2 separate regions of the Homo sapiens genome follow, and region 1 is linked to region 2. Evidence: promoter capture Hi-C in 16 types of primary human blood cells and fetal thymus (Javierre and others, 2016). All regions are on one chromosome and are shown on one strand. Each heading gives the region's core, a stretch centred on a gene start or on the middle of the fragment in contact. The rest is flanking DNA. Distances are from core to core; before and after follow the strand shown. Region 1 overlaps MS4A6A (membrane spanning 4-domains A6A). Region 2 holds the start of MS4A12 (membrane spanning 4-domains A12).

The links. The method cuts DNA at HindIII sites, captures the fragments that hold promoters and counts their contacts. A CHiCAGO score of 5 or more calls a contact.
Region 1: a contact is called between a fragment that was not itself captured here and the fragment with the promoter of MS4A12 in region 2, in 1 of 17 cell types (M0 macrophages). The highest score is 5.8, in M0 macrophages.

What each region holds. Positions count from the first base shown.
Region 1 is chr11:60,170,274-60,177,557 of GRCh38, reverse strand. MS4A6A (membrane spanning 4-domains A6A) reads left to right here. Exons shown (of 6, transcript NM_022349.4): 5 at 1,947-2,156; 6 at 4,429-5,061. The coding sequence ends at 4,557. Among named protein-coding and RNA genes, the nearest start is that of MS4A6A, 9.2 kb to the left of the region's middle. The HindIII fragment of the contact is 5,473 bases long and covers 8-5,480 here.
Region 2 is chr11:60,487,940-60,494,735 of GRCh38, reverse strand. It overlaps MS4A12 (membrane spanning 4-domains A12), which reads right to left and starts at 1,958. Exons shown (of 7, transcript NM_017716.3): 1 at 1,908-1,958. RefSeq lists enhancers at 2,235-2,972, 2,973-3,712. The HindIII fragment of the contact is 5,161 bases long and covers 1-4,110 here.

The DNA of each region.
Region 1 (7,284 bases), core at 1,495-3,994, 320 kb after region 2:
CAAAGCTTTACCCGTCTTTATCCCTTATTCCAGCAAAAACTAGAGTTGGAAGTGGCAGGGAGACAAAGCCTGGATTATAGGGAGAATCTTCTCTTGTCTTTAAAGTTTCATTAAGTCTTCGCTCAATCCATTATCTCTCAAGGGGTTGATGTTGGAGATTATGTGAGAGAATGTCATACCATGCAATTGCACCGAGACTCAATTTGGAAGCTCTGGCTACAAAAATCTCCCAAAGCCAGCAAGGAAGTGAGAAACGGCATCCAGAAAAATGCCAATTCTTTTTCTCATCGGTATTTAGAGATTATTATTTGGAACCCTCAGTTAGACTCGGAACTACTAACTAGATCTGTGCTGTTTAATTTAACTTTCTTTGAGGATGGAAATGAAATGTAACTTTCTATGATGATAGAAATGAAATGTAACTTTCTATGATGATGGAAATGCACTACAGCTGTACTGTACAATATGGCAGTCACATGTGGCTATCGATGATGTGAAATATAGTGCAACTGAATAAAAATTTCTCTTAATTTTACTTTAAATATAGATAGTCTATGTGGCTATTGGCAACCATACTGAGTAGCCTGGCACAAGGGTAGTGCTTTCAAACTTTTAGGAGGAAATATATGGGCCTGTTACTCCAGAGAACAATCCCACAGTGAACATGCAGGAAGCTCAAGGATGCAGGATGTGGTCTCGGGGTGGGCTCAGACTTACCAGAGACATCGAGGCTTTAGCGAGTTCTACTCTTGTCACACATTGCACCAGCCCTTTTTGAGATTGAAGAAGAGTGCCATCTCAAGACAAATCTAGCTTATTCTAAGAAATATAGACTCTAGGCATCAAGAATACTACTGGCTACTAGGAGGCCCAGGAGTGTACACTTCAGTCATTATGTTGGGAAATTGGGGTCCCAGAGTATCAACTGGTGAGTTCCTAAAAGAAGAAGTGCCCATGTGGGATTAAGTAACATTCTACTGTATGGCTGTGAGGTGTGCCCTGGAGCCTACCTACCTGTAACTATAGCTCTCAGAGTACTCTTAGCTCAATTCTCTTTTCTGTGTGAGTTGGAGTACAAAAGAAGTCACTTCTGAGGTTAGTTTATCTATTCCCTTCACTTCATAAATGTATAAATGAGAACCAGAGTGGGAAATAAAATCAAGGAACTGATTACCCAAGGGAATAAACCAAGGCAAGTCTAGTACTGTGACTTCAATATTCTGACCTCCAGTTCAGACCTTTTTCTTGTACTTCCCGCTGCCTCCCACACATTACACCATCCTTGGGCCTGCACCTAGACCTCTGCCCACAGCCACCCCATACTGCACTCAGTGTGGCCAATCATATGCCTGCCCATGTTCCAGGGCCTGCCTGAGACTCAGAACCACCCCCTCACTCATCTTTGAGAGGTGTGCTTTTGAGAGAAGCAATGGGCAGGCGAGAGTGAGCTATTAGGTTGGTGCAAACATAATTGTGGTTTTATGGCAAAAACCACAATTACTTTTGCACCATGCTAATACATGATCTATCTTTTCCATGTGGCTGATGCTTCCGCCAGGGGTTTTTGAGTTGAGCGAGAGAGAAACTGCATCTGGTACGTTGCCACCTTCACTTTGGGTCACGCTCTCTTGGTAATGTTGCAGGTAAAGCCTCATGAAAGCCCTGCTATCTGTCCTGGGGAAAGAATTTAGGAGAGTAACATTCTCTACCACACCACTGAGGTCCTGCTTAAGGTGAACCAGTTCGTATAGTCATTCATTCAGCCAAGAATTACCCTGGAGATTGAGAGATTTTTGCTGGACACTGGAGAGGCATACAGCAATAAATGATCAATCCCAGACCTCCTGAGGGGACAGATAAGGGAATAACTTACAATTTAATGGCAAAGATGCATAACAGATTCATGAGTCATTAGCAATGATCCTTACCCAACATTTCTCTTTCAGGTGCATAGCAGCCTGGTTGGAAGCATTCTGAGTGCTCTGTCTGCCCTGGTGGGTTTCATTATCCTGTCTGTCAAACAGGCCACCTTAAATCCTGCCTCACTGCAGTGTGAGTTGGACAAAAATAATATACCAACAAGAAGTTATGTTTCTTACTTTTATCATGATTCACTTTATACCACGGACTGCTATACAGCCAAAGCCAGTCTGGCTGTAAGTATTTTTAGATGGGATGTTCTAATCTTATGAGGTATTCAAAAGCCTTGATTTCTTGTTATTCCTTCTTTTGAAAATCTCTCTATTGGTTCTGGTTTGGGCATCTGGGGGAAAGCCAGGTTTATGTAAATCAAAGGGGACTACAGGGATGAGATTAAGGGGATTACATACTAATAGAGTGGAATTGAAAATGTTAAATAAGGTTGATGATGAAAAACTAAAACTTACTGTTTGTAGAGGTTCTTAATTATCAAACTAATCCAATTTTGGAGGCATAAATTATGAGTTTATCAAAATGAGAATCTTGGTACATGGAGTGGTGAATTAAGAATGGAAACAGAGCAGAAAGACCCAGGAGATCAGAATAGGCCAACAAGGAAACAGTATGTGTGCATGGTAAGGAGTTAATTTGGTTTGAGAAGACATCAGATTCAGTACTAAGAAAAAGAGGATAGGAAATATGGGATGAGAAGATAAGGGCTTCTTCTTCTAATGATCACAATAATGAATAATACTGATCAGGTGAGAATGCAACATTATTGTTGCTTTTTGTTATAGCTGAAAGAAGTGTGATATATTAAATCAGGAGATAAGAAATATAGGGAGATGGAGAGTGTAATTGAGAATGATTGCAGGAGAATTCTATCTCTTTGGAAGAAGAAAAATAATGAAGTTTGGCTAATAGAAATAATATGTCTGAAGTTGAAAGATTAAGGGGCATGTGCATGGTCAGCAACACATTGAGAGAAAAACAGGCAACATAAGAGTAAAGGGACGGCTGGGTCAGTGGCTCACCCCTATAATACAAGCATTTTGGGAGGCCCTGGTGCATGGATCACGAGGTCAGGTGTTCAAGATGAGCCTGGCCATGACGGTGAAACCCCATCTCTACTAAAAGTACAAAAACTAGCTGGGTGTGGTGGCGGGCAGCCGTAATCCCAGCTACTTGGGAGGCTGAGGCGGAGAATTACCTGAGCCTGGGAGGTGGCGGAGGTTGCAGTGAGCTGAGATCACGCCACTGCACTCCAGCCTGGGTGACAGAGCAAGACTCCGTCTCAAAAAAAAAAAAAAAGGAATAAAGAAATTGCAGAATATTTGTTGTCCTGCAATCATAAAAACAAGATAAGCCAAGAACTCAGCTGGAAGATGGACAGATAGAAAGGTCTGGTCAAAGTCATGTTTGTATAGCACTCATTATAAAGAGGGCCTTGCTCCCAAGGTAATGGTATAATGAGAAAAAGTACAAGTAAATGAGGCTGACAGCAATTGGCACAGATTAATACCTGGCACAGCCAATTCCACCTTGGGAAAAATTCTGAAGAGAAATTTCAGAGAAATTTGGTAGTGATAAAGTATAAATTCATGATGGGACGATTTTACATTGGAAATAAGAGAGATTCTGTCAAGTTTGCTTGCTGGAACAATTTCCAGTAATGGAAAAAGTTATATCTTCTCTTTAACTGTGTATAAATACCACAAACCAAAGTTTCATGTGATCAAATTATTTCCGTTTATTATCAGATGGCCAGTTCTGCACAAAGAATGTCTCAGGACAGAAATGATAGAATTCATTCTTGTGAGTTGGTGTTGGTGATTAGCAACTCTGACAGTTTACTACCTTCACTGTTTTTTTCTAAGCCTTACAGTTACACCCCCAAAAAAAAGAAAAAAAAGAAAAAACAACAAAGAAACAACAACAAAAATCAAGAAGAAATACAAAGGGGTTCAGATACATAGACAGGGATGTCAATACTAAATTTTACAAAGGACTTGCACAGTCAAAACCTCCTTGATCCTTACAAATTTCTGAGAAAGAAATGTTAGTATGCATGTTTGATACATGAGGAAACAGGAGCTAGAGAAAGAGAGAGACTTGTCCAGGCTTACACAGCTACTAAGCAGTAAAGGTGAGACTGGAACGGAGCTGCTGATTCTCAGTCCTGGGAGTTATTACGCCACTCTGCTTTCTTACCGAGTGAACAATGTCATCAGAACTATGGATGTCTCAAAGAAGTAAGAAATAAGTGTATGAAGTAGATTAGTTGATTTAATTACTATTCATCTCCCTTTCTCCTCTCAAGGAAATGAGTTAAGGGGTTGAATTAAGACAATTGTGAGGTGTGGGAGGAGCAGTTTTATCTTCCTGATGGTGTCCTTTCTTCATTCTCTAATGGTTGAGGTGGTCTTCATCTCTATGGTCACCTCTCAACTAGGCATGAAGGCTTCAGCTGACCTAAGCAACATCAATCTTTTATTTCTTGACTTTCAGGGAACTCTCTCTCTGATGCTGATTTGCACTCTGCTGGAATTCTGCCTAGCTGTGCTCACTGCTGTGCTGCGGTGGAAACAGGCTTACTCTGACTTCCCTGGGGTGAGTGTGCTGGCCGGCTTCACTTAACCTTGCCTAGTGTATCTTATCCCTGCACTGTGTTGAGTATGTCACCAAGAGTGGTAGAAGGAACAATCAGTCAGTCATGAGATACACATGGGAGGGCATTTGCATTGTGATGGAAGACAGAGAAGAAAAGCAGATGGCAATTGAGTAGCTGATAAGCTGAAAATTCACTGGATATGAAAATAGTTAATCATGAGAAATCAACTGATTCAATCTTCCTATTTTGTCAGCGAAGGGAATGAGACTCTGGGAAGTTAAATGACTGGCCTGGCATTATGCTATGAGTTTGTGCCTTTGCTGAGGACACTAGAACCTGGCTTGCCTCCCTTATAAGCAGAAACAATTTCTGCCACAACCACTAGTCTCTTTAATAGTATTGACTTGGTAAAGGGCATTTACACACGTAACTGGATCCAGTGAATGTCTTATGCTCTGCATTTGCCCCTGGTGATCTTAAAATTCGTTTGCCTTTTTAAAGCTATATTAAAAATGTATTGTTGAATCAAACCCCTATGGACTTATGGCTTTATTTAACTGAATTAAAAAGCCTTGATTTATCCAAAATTGTATTATAGAGTGTAGAATGAATACTAGGGTGATAAATTGCAATTATTTGAAGAACCTGGTGATATGCTCTACTTATCTTGGATTAGCTAAGAATTCTATGTATACAGTTGGAAAAATGGCATATATACATCTATCTTGAACCTGATTGAAGTCTGAAGACCTAACATATTTTGTTTCTTCTAGAGTGTACTTTTCCTGCCTCACAGTTACATTGGTAATTCTGGCATGTCCTCAAAAATGACTCATGACTGTGGATATGAAGAACTATTGACTTCTTAAGAAAAAAGGGAGAAATATTAATCAGAAAGTTGATTCTTATGATAATATGGAAAAGTTAACCATTATAGAAAAGCAAAGCTTGAGTTTCCTAAATGTAAGCTTTTAAAGTAATGAACATTAAAAAAAACCATTATTTCACTGTCATTTAAGATATGTGTTCATTGGGGATCTCTTGATTTGCCTGACATTGACTTCAGCAAAAGCACGGGGCTGTAAATTACCATTTACTAGATTAGCCAAATAGTCTGAATTTCCAGAAAACAAGGCAGAATGATCATTCCCAGAAACATTTCCCAGAAAATGTTTCCCAGAAAACTAGACAGAATGATCATTCAATGGATCACAGTGAAGCAAAGGACACAACTTTTTATTGTACCCCTTAATTGTCAACAGGAGTTAACTGATTTGTTGTGGTGCTCAGACTTTTTTATACAGGTGCTAGTGTTTTATCCTATGTATTTTAACTCATTAGTGCATAAAGGCAAGCCCCATATAATGAAGTCTCAGGGTATATGAAAGTAGCTGGCTTCAAAATAAAATTTTTGAGTGCATATTTTGTTTTAACACTCGTTTTGTTGTTTTTTCCCTTAAACACAGAATAAGTCAACAATGACAGACATAAACCCAAATTGGAACTCCATTTTCTCCCCATCAAATATTCAAACAAAACTAATGAGCAAACAAAAGCTAACCAGGAATACTCATTTTTTATGAAGCATCGACCAGTTCATACTTATTTTCTTATTGCAAGAAAGACCAATTGTTTGTGTATAAATATTAAGTTTCAGCATGTGTGTACACACACACACGTAGAAAAGTATTTCAATTTTACATGAGCTCCATTTCATTGAAAGAACTGGTCATGTTTCCCTTGCTTTTACCCACTGTAGCAGGGGTCATACCCACTGTATCAGATATCCTGATACTCAGCTTTTCTGCTGTTTTCTTTTCCAGGCTGAAACTGGACTGTCAGATTCTTTGATTTTAGCTTTATCTTCAAACTCTCGTTCATTATGTCTTCTCCCTGTCCATTGCACCCCCCACTGACACACACCATTTCTTTTATTTATTTACCTACTGTGGACATTCAACTTTTATTGACGCTTATTGGATACCAGACACTATGTCAAATAAGAGAAACAGAGATGACAGTGAAATTAGGGATATATACAGGGCACTAACTATTATTTGAACACAGAATAAAGCATACCTTCTTCTGCCTAAAAGAATGTAGGGGATAAACAGGTGTGTGTGTGTGTGTGTTTGTGTGTGTGTATGTGTATGTGTGAGAGAGAGTCCTTCTTTTGAAAATCCACATCCCCCATATCAATCACATGGTGCCACCTTCTGCCACAGGAGAGGACTATGACTCAGAGTCCACAATTGGTGTATTCATCTACTGTACTCACACTCCAGCTTTGTTCCTCACCCCCTGCCACCATGTCTTCACCACCACCACAGCACTCTGGATACCAGAAGTCTTACTGATTACCCAGTCAAACTTCTGGTCTTCAAAGTTCCCCCCGGGTCTCTCTTCAGCTTTGACTTGTTTATCAGAGAAGGCATCCAGCCCTTTAGGCAACACTCAAAGCCACTTTTTATCCTAGGCTCAACCTCACTGCCATGTCATCCACTGATATCTTTTCTTTCAAGTAGCAATGCCCCTTCAGCCCAAGTCAAGTGAGAATGATGCCTACCTTGAGATAGAAGATGTATTGAGATAACCTTTGTAAAGCAGTTACCAATATAGCTGACACATGAAAGATGCTCAGTGAACTCGAGTTTTATTGTGTGTTTACTTCCCTTTGCTTTCACTTCCATAGTCCAACTTTCCTTCCCCTTCCACTTCCACCCTCTATGTCTAAAATTAACTTCAACCCCAAT
Region 2 (6,796 bases), core at 709-3,208:
AAATGACAGAAGGTACCTAAGGAGGCTAGTCTAAAGTTCAAATTATCCTAATTTATGCAAAACTGTTGGAACAGTGCCTAGCACATGGCAAGAGCTTAAAAAGGAACTATTATTTTATTATTAGATCCCAAGGTATTCTATCTTGTTTTAGGCAGTGGATGTGGCCATAGGAAAAGTTTATAAAAGGAATTGAACAGGGTCAATTTCAAGAGCAAAGAAATAGGAGATGGGTACTCAGAGTACAGTAATTAACCAGAACAAGAATTTTTTTGAGCTTTTAAAAAGCATACAATTAAAGAATTGTCCACGTTTCTGCATGTATATGATTTCATTACATTCTCCTTTGCTGTTGATCATTGCTTTTTTTTTGTCTCGAGAAATTTTATGAGGAAAACTCAATACTTTTCATTTATTTATCAACAGTTTCTCCTTTCATATCTGCTGTTTAGTTTCTGGACTAAGATCTGTAAATTTCACATAGAACCCAGATTATTCATGGCTAGGTCTATAGTTATTAGGACTCAGAATACATTTTTACTGGGTCAAGTTCTGGTTTTATAAAAGGAATTAAAGACAGAGCCAGCCAGTTCTGATTCTTTAATTATTCAATTGAAATGAAGACAATTCTGTAAATGATACATGAGAAGGGAAACTAATAAATAGACTCCTTTTATAGATTCCACCTATTGACTTAGTAGGATTGTTCTCTTGACAGTTGACAAAATATTTACCCCTAGTTGTCCTTTTTTTAAAAATAAGAATTAGAACAACTGCAATTATTTTTAAGAACAAGGAACACATAAAAATATTGGAGCTCTGATGAGATCAAAAGTATAAGACTAAAGCAATTAGAGAAAACCTCAGCAATTTGCTCTGTGATTACATTATTTCAAATAAAAATGGGAAAAATTTACTTCTTTATAGTTTCTTTCTACCTCATTTTCATGCTAACTTCACTTTTGACAGAGTGAAGATGATTATTATTTTCAAGAGTACTTTATAGCATAAAGCAAAACATGAAACCGAATCATTTTCACAAAATCACCCAGTACATCCACAGGTATACACTTATATCACCTTTCACAAAATGCTGATCTGGTGAAAATGAATGTTCTTTCCCTACCTATTTTAATTTTAATTGTTTTCTTGTCAGAAAGAAGTACCTTAATTAAAATGTGTTACAAAGCCAAGGGCTCCAGTATTACTTCTGTGTTCTATGTTGTCCCTGTGGTAGCCACATAATCATCAAGTGCCCAGTGGGGCATGGCCTCGTCCTTTTGGGCCCATGTTCATGGAATGGCATACAGTTGAACCTATTATTCACCTTTCTTAGCATTAGCTTTTTTTTTTTTTTTTTTTAAGATGGAGTTTCACTCTTGTCACCCAGGCTGGAGTGCAATGGAGCGATCTCGGCTCACTGCAACCTCCGCCTCCCGAGTTCACGTGATTCTCCTGCCTCAGCCCCCCGAGTAGCTGGGATTACAGGCACCTGCCACTACGCCCAGCTAATTTTTGTATTTTTAGTGGAGATGGGGTTTCACCATGTTAGGCAGGCTGGTCTCGAACTCCTGACCTCAGGTGATTCTCCTGCCTCGGCCTCCCAAAGAGCTGGGTTTACAGGTGTGAGCCACCGCACCCAGCGAGCATTAGCTTTTTTTTTCTTTTTGCAGTCCGTTTTATCTCTTGTACAGCAACCAACTTACTTTTTCATTCCTCTTCTGTTTTGTTTCTTTCTTGTTTCGTTCATGGTTTTATTCTCCCTCATTTTTCAACTGGCCTCAACATAGAGTCAAGAACTTGTCTTCATCCCTCCAATCTAGAGAACAGAACCCACACAGGTAGACCAGCCACAGTTTGTGCCCATTGATTTGGAGGAGAGATAGGCAAGAACGTATCAATGGACTTACTTTGTTCCTTTGGCACCTCTATGTTTCCTCTTTCTCTGCTCCAACCTGTGTGCCAGTATCAGATATTTACCTGGATTTTATAGGTAGATTTTATTTCCGTTCTCCAAACCAATTTGTCTTGTATCTTTATGTAGTTCCAGAGTCCTTTTATGGTTATTTCTCTTTCACCTCAAGAGATGTAAATGCAACTGTAAAGTTTGGAATACGCTGTGCTTTCACATCCTCCTCTAATTTTTACTGGGAAGCCTATTGTGACCCTCCCAAACACTTTAGTATTTATTTTCTCCAGCTTTCTAATGCTCAATCATTGCAATATCATACTGCATTTTTTTATTTTTATTTTTATTTATTTATTTTTTTTACTGGGATTTTATTTTTAAATTTCTAAACACTCAAATTATGTTTATAGTCTCTTTTTTTTTTTTATTGATCATTCTTGGGTGTTTCTCACAGAGGGGGATTTGGCAGGGTCATAGGACAATAGTGAAGGGAAGGTCAGCAGATAAACAAGTGAACAAAGGTCTCTGGCTTTCCTAGGCAGAGGACCCTGCGGCCTTCCGCAGTGTTTTTGTCCCTGGGTACTTGAGATTAGGGAGTGGTGATGACTCTTAACGAGCATGCTGCCTTCAAGCATCTGTTTAACAAAGCACATCTTGCACCGCCCTTAATCCATTGAACCCTGAGTGGACACAGCACATGTTTCAGAGAGCACAGGGTTGGGGGTAAGGTCATAGATCAACAGCATCCCAAGGCAGAAGAATTTTTCTTAGTACAGAACAAAATGAAATCTCCCATGTCTACTTCTTTCTACACAGACACAGCAACAATCTGATTTCTCTATCTTTTCCCCACCTTTCCCCCTTTTCTATTCCACAAAACCGCCATCGTCATCATGGCCCGTTCTCAATGAGCTGTTGGGTACACCTCCCAGACGGGGTGATGGCCAGGCAGAGGGGCTCCTCACTTCCCAGAAGGGGCGGCTGGGCGGAGGCGCCCCCCACCTCCCTCCCGGAGGGGGCGGCTGGCCGGGCGGGGGCTGACCCCCCCACCTCCCTCCCGGACGGGGCGGCTCGCTGGGCGGGGACTGGCCCCCCACCTTCCTCCTGGACGGGGTGGCTGCCAGGCGGAGACGCTCCTCACTTCTCAGACGGGGCGGCTGCTGGGCGGAGGGGCTCCTCACTTCTCAGACAGGGCGGCTGCTGGGCGGAGGGGCTCCTCACTTCTCAGACTGGGCGGCCGGGCAGAGACACTCCTCACCTCCCAGACGGGGTCGCCACTGGGCAGAGGCGCTCCTCACATCCTTGACGGGGTGGCAGGGCAGAGGCGCTCCCCACATCTCAGACGATGGGCGGCTGGGCAGAGACGCTCCTCACTTCTTGGACGGGATGGTGGCCGGGAAGAGGCGCTCCTCACTTCCCAGACTGGGCAGCCAGGCAGAGGGGCTCCTCAAATCCCAGACAATGGGCGGCCAGGCAGAGACGCTCCTCACTTCCCAGACGGGGTGGCGGCCGGGCAGAGGCTGTAATCTCGGCACTTTGGGAGGCCAAGGCAGGCGGCTGGGAGGTGGAGGTTGTAGCTAGCTGAGATCACGCCACTGCACTCCAGCCTGGGCAACATTGAGCACTGAGTGAACGAGACTCCGTATACAATCCCGGCACCTCGGGAGGCTGAGGCTGGTGGATCACTCGCGGTTAGGAGCCGGAGACCAAACCGGCCAACACAGCGAAACCCCATCTCCACCAAAAAAATACGAAAACCAGTCAGGCGTGGCGACTCGGCAGGCTGAGTCAGGAGAATCAGGCAGGGAGGTTGCAGTGAGCCGAGATGGTGGCAGTACAGTCCAGCTTCGGCTCGGCATCAGAGGGAAACCGTGGAAAGAGAGGGAGAGGGAGACCATGGGGAGGGGGAGAGGGAGGGAGAGGGAGAGGGAGAGGGAGAGGGAGAGGGACAGGGAGAGGGACAGGGAGAGGGAGAGGGAGAGCCATACTGCATTTTAATGCCTTTTAAATTAGGTGGACAAAATTGGAAAATGCAGATAATAAAAAAAGGAGAGAAAAAGCACTCAATCTCACCACGCAGACATAATTAATGATAGTATTTGCATTTTGATTTGTAAACTTTTGTGTGCGCATGTATGTATTTTACATAGTAAAATCAAGTTAGGATCATAATGTATATATACTTCATAACCTGCTTTTAAGCTTAATGTCCTATAAATATCTTTTCATGTCGATAAACATATTTATTGTAGTTCTTTTTTTTTTTTTTTTTTGAGATGGAGTCTTGCTCTGTCACCCAGGCTGGAGTGCAGTGGCGCGATCTCGGCTCACTGCAAGCTCTGCCTCCCGGGTTCACACCATTCTCCTGCCTCAGCCTCCGGAGTGGCTGGGACTACAGGCGCCCGCCACCATGCCCGGCTAATATTTTGTATTTTTAGTAGAGACGGGGTTTCACCATGTTAGCCAGGACGGTCTCGATCTCCTGACCTTGTGATATGCCCGCCTAGGCCCCCCAAAGTGCTGGATTACAGGTGTGAGCCACCGCACCTGGCCTATTTATTGTAATTCTTAATAGTGGCGTGCTGTTTTATTTTTTGGAAGTGTCCTGTCACATTCCAGTTATTTATTTTAGGTTGTATCTCAGGTACAAATGAGTACCTTGAGACCAGAGATCCTTGGGGCAGGGGCTGATATCTATCCCCACCTCCAACTCCATGTATGGCACAGTGTCTCACACATGTTAAGGCTCATTAAATATACATTAAAAGAGTTGGTGGCATGAGTGCAGATTCTTTTTTCTTTTTTTGTGTATTATTGAGAGTTTTCTTTCTCTTGTGGGTTTACATTTTTATATATTTTTCTAAAATAGAAAAAAGATGCTGAAGATTTATTAATGTTATGAGCTTAAGAAAATGACAATTTCAGGCAATAATATTGCTGAAAGGCTTGAAGGTATTTAAAGGAAAATGAAGTAAGCATTGTTTTTGAAAGCCCACAGAATCATGATTACTGTCTGGAAAGGTATAACATGATCAACCTTATTCATGTTATCCAGGCAGCAGGAAGAGAAAGTTGAAAATAAATAATGTCAGGCTGGGCACAGTGGCTCACGCCTGTAATCCCAGCACTTTGGGAGGCTGAGGTGGGTGGATCACTTGAGATCAGGAGTTTGAGAGCAGCCTGGCCAACATGGTGAAACCCCATCTCTACTAACATACAAAAATTAGCTGAGTGTGGTGGCACACGCCTGTAATCCCAGCTACTTGGGAGGCTGCAGCAGGAGAATCACTTGAACCTGGGAGGCGGAGGTTGGAGTGAGCCGAGATTGCGCCACTGCACTCCAGCCTGGGTGACACAGCGAGACTCCCTCTCAAAAAAATAAAATAAAATAAAAAATAAAAAAAGAAAAAAGAAATAGTGTCTTTTAAACCTAGAATCCCCTTCCTTCTCCTGTTGGCCTTTCAGACCCATCTCCATGCAGCAAATCTTGGTAAGACTTCTGCACTGTTCTCTCCTGTAATCATGTGGTTAGTGCCATTAACAGTGTGATTCTTCTATGTTGTGTTCTGATTTGTGATTTCTTCAAACATGCTCTAACTTCTAAGGGCAGGAGTTATAGTACCATTTCATAATCTCTTTTGTATCCCTAGCTTAGGAACATGCTCGTAAAGCTGAATGCTTTACAGTCTGTGGAGAAAGGCCATTTTTTCCATTAAAATTTTCAATTTATTGTGGACCAACACATTTGTAAAATATAATAAAAATAAACAACTAGGAAAATAAGATAGACAATAATTCAAGCCCAGAGTTTTCATTAGAATCTGTAGGCATAAAATTGTTTTAATAAATGTCATCTCAACATGGGAAAACAGAAAAGAATTACAAATCTGACAACGATCCACAACTATTATAATCACTATTACACATAGCTTTTGGCTCTTCCAAAACTGTAGCTAAACAAAAATTACAAAGGAAATACTGATTTCCTGCATTAAAAGTCTATAATACACACTTGGAATAAACATTGTGTACATCACTCTTTAAATTTCCACTATTTAAATAAACTTGCTTCTTGCTTATTAATTTGTTTAACTCGGATTGATGGCAGTGCTACTTGCAGAGGATAATGCATTTTTAAACTGTTTCTATGTTTTGTTTTAACAATACCCCTAATAGAGAAATCAGTCTCACAGAGGTATGTTGACAGGAACAGAATAAATTTTGGAATAATTTCAGAAACACATAATTTTTGTTTGTTTGTGTTTTTGAGACAGAGTCTCGCTTTGTCACCTAAGCTGGAGTGCAGTGGCATGATCTCAGCTCACTGCAACCTCTGCCTCCTGGGTTCAAGGGATTCTCATACCTCAGCCTCCTGAGTAGCTGGAATCACAGGTGTGTGCCACCACGCCCAGTTACTTTTTGTATTTTTAGTAGAGATGGGGTTTCACCATGTTGGCCAGGCTGGTCTCGAACTTCTGACCTCAAGTGATCCACCCACCTCGGCCTCCCAAAGTGCTGGGATTACAGGTGTGAGCCACAGCTCCCGGCTGGAAACCCAGAATATTTATTTAAAATTCTTATATATAACAAAACAAGTGATATCATATTTTCAAAGTACATATTCAGTCCATCGGTAGTCACTGCTAACAATTTATCCTGTCTATAATTTTTTTCCTTTTGATCAAAAAATGGATTTTGAGATAATGCGATATATTTTTTTCTGTGTCTGGCTGATTTCACCTATTGATCCATTTGTCTGTTCTTTCACCAATACCACACTGTCTTCATTACTGTAGCTTTACTGTAAGTCTTGAAGTTGGATAGTGTCAGTCCTCTAACTTGGTTCTTCTCTTTTGATATCATTTTTGCTAAAAAATTTCAAATATACAG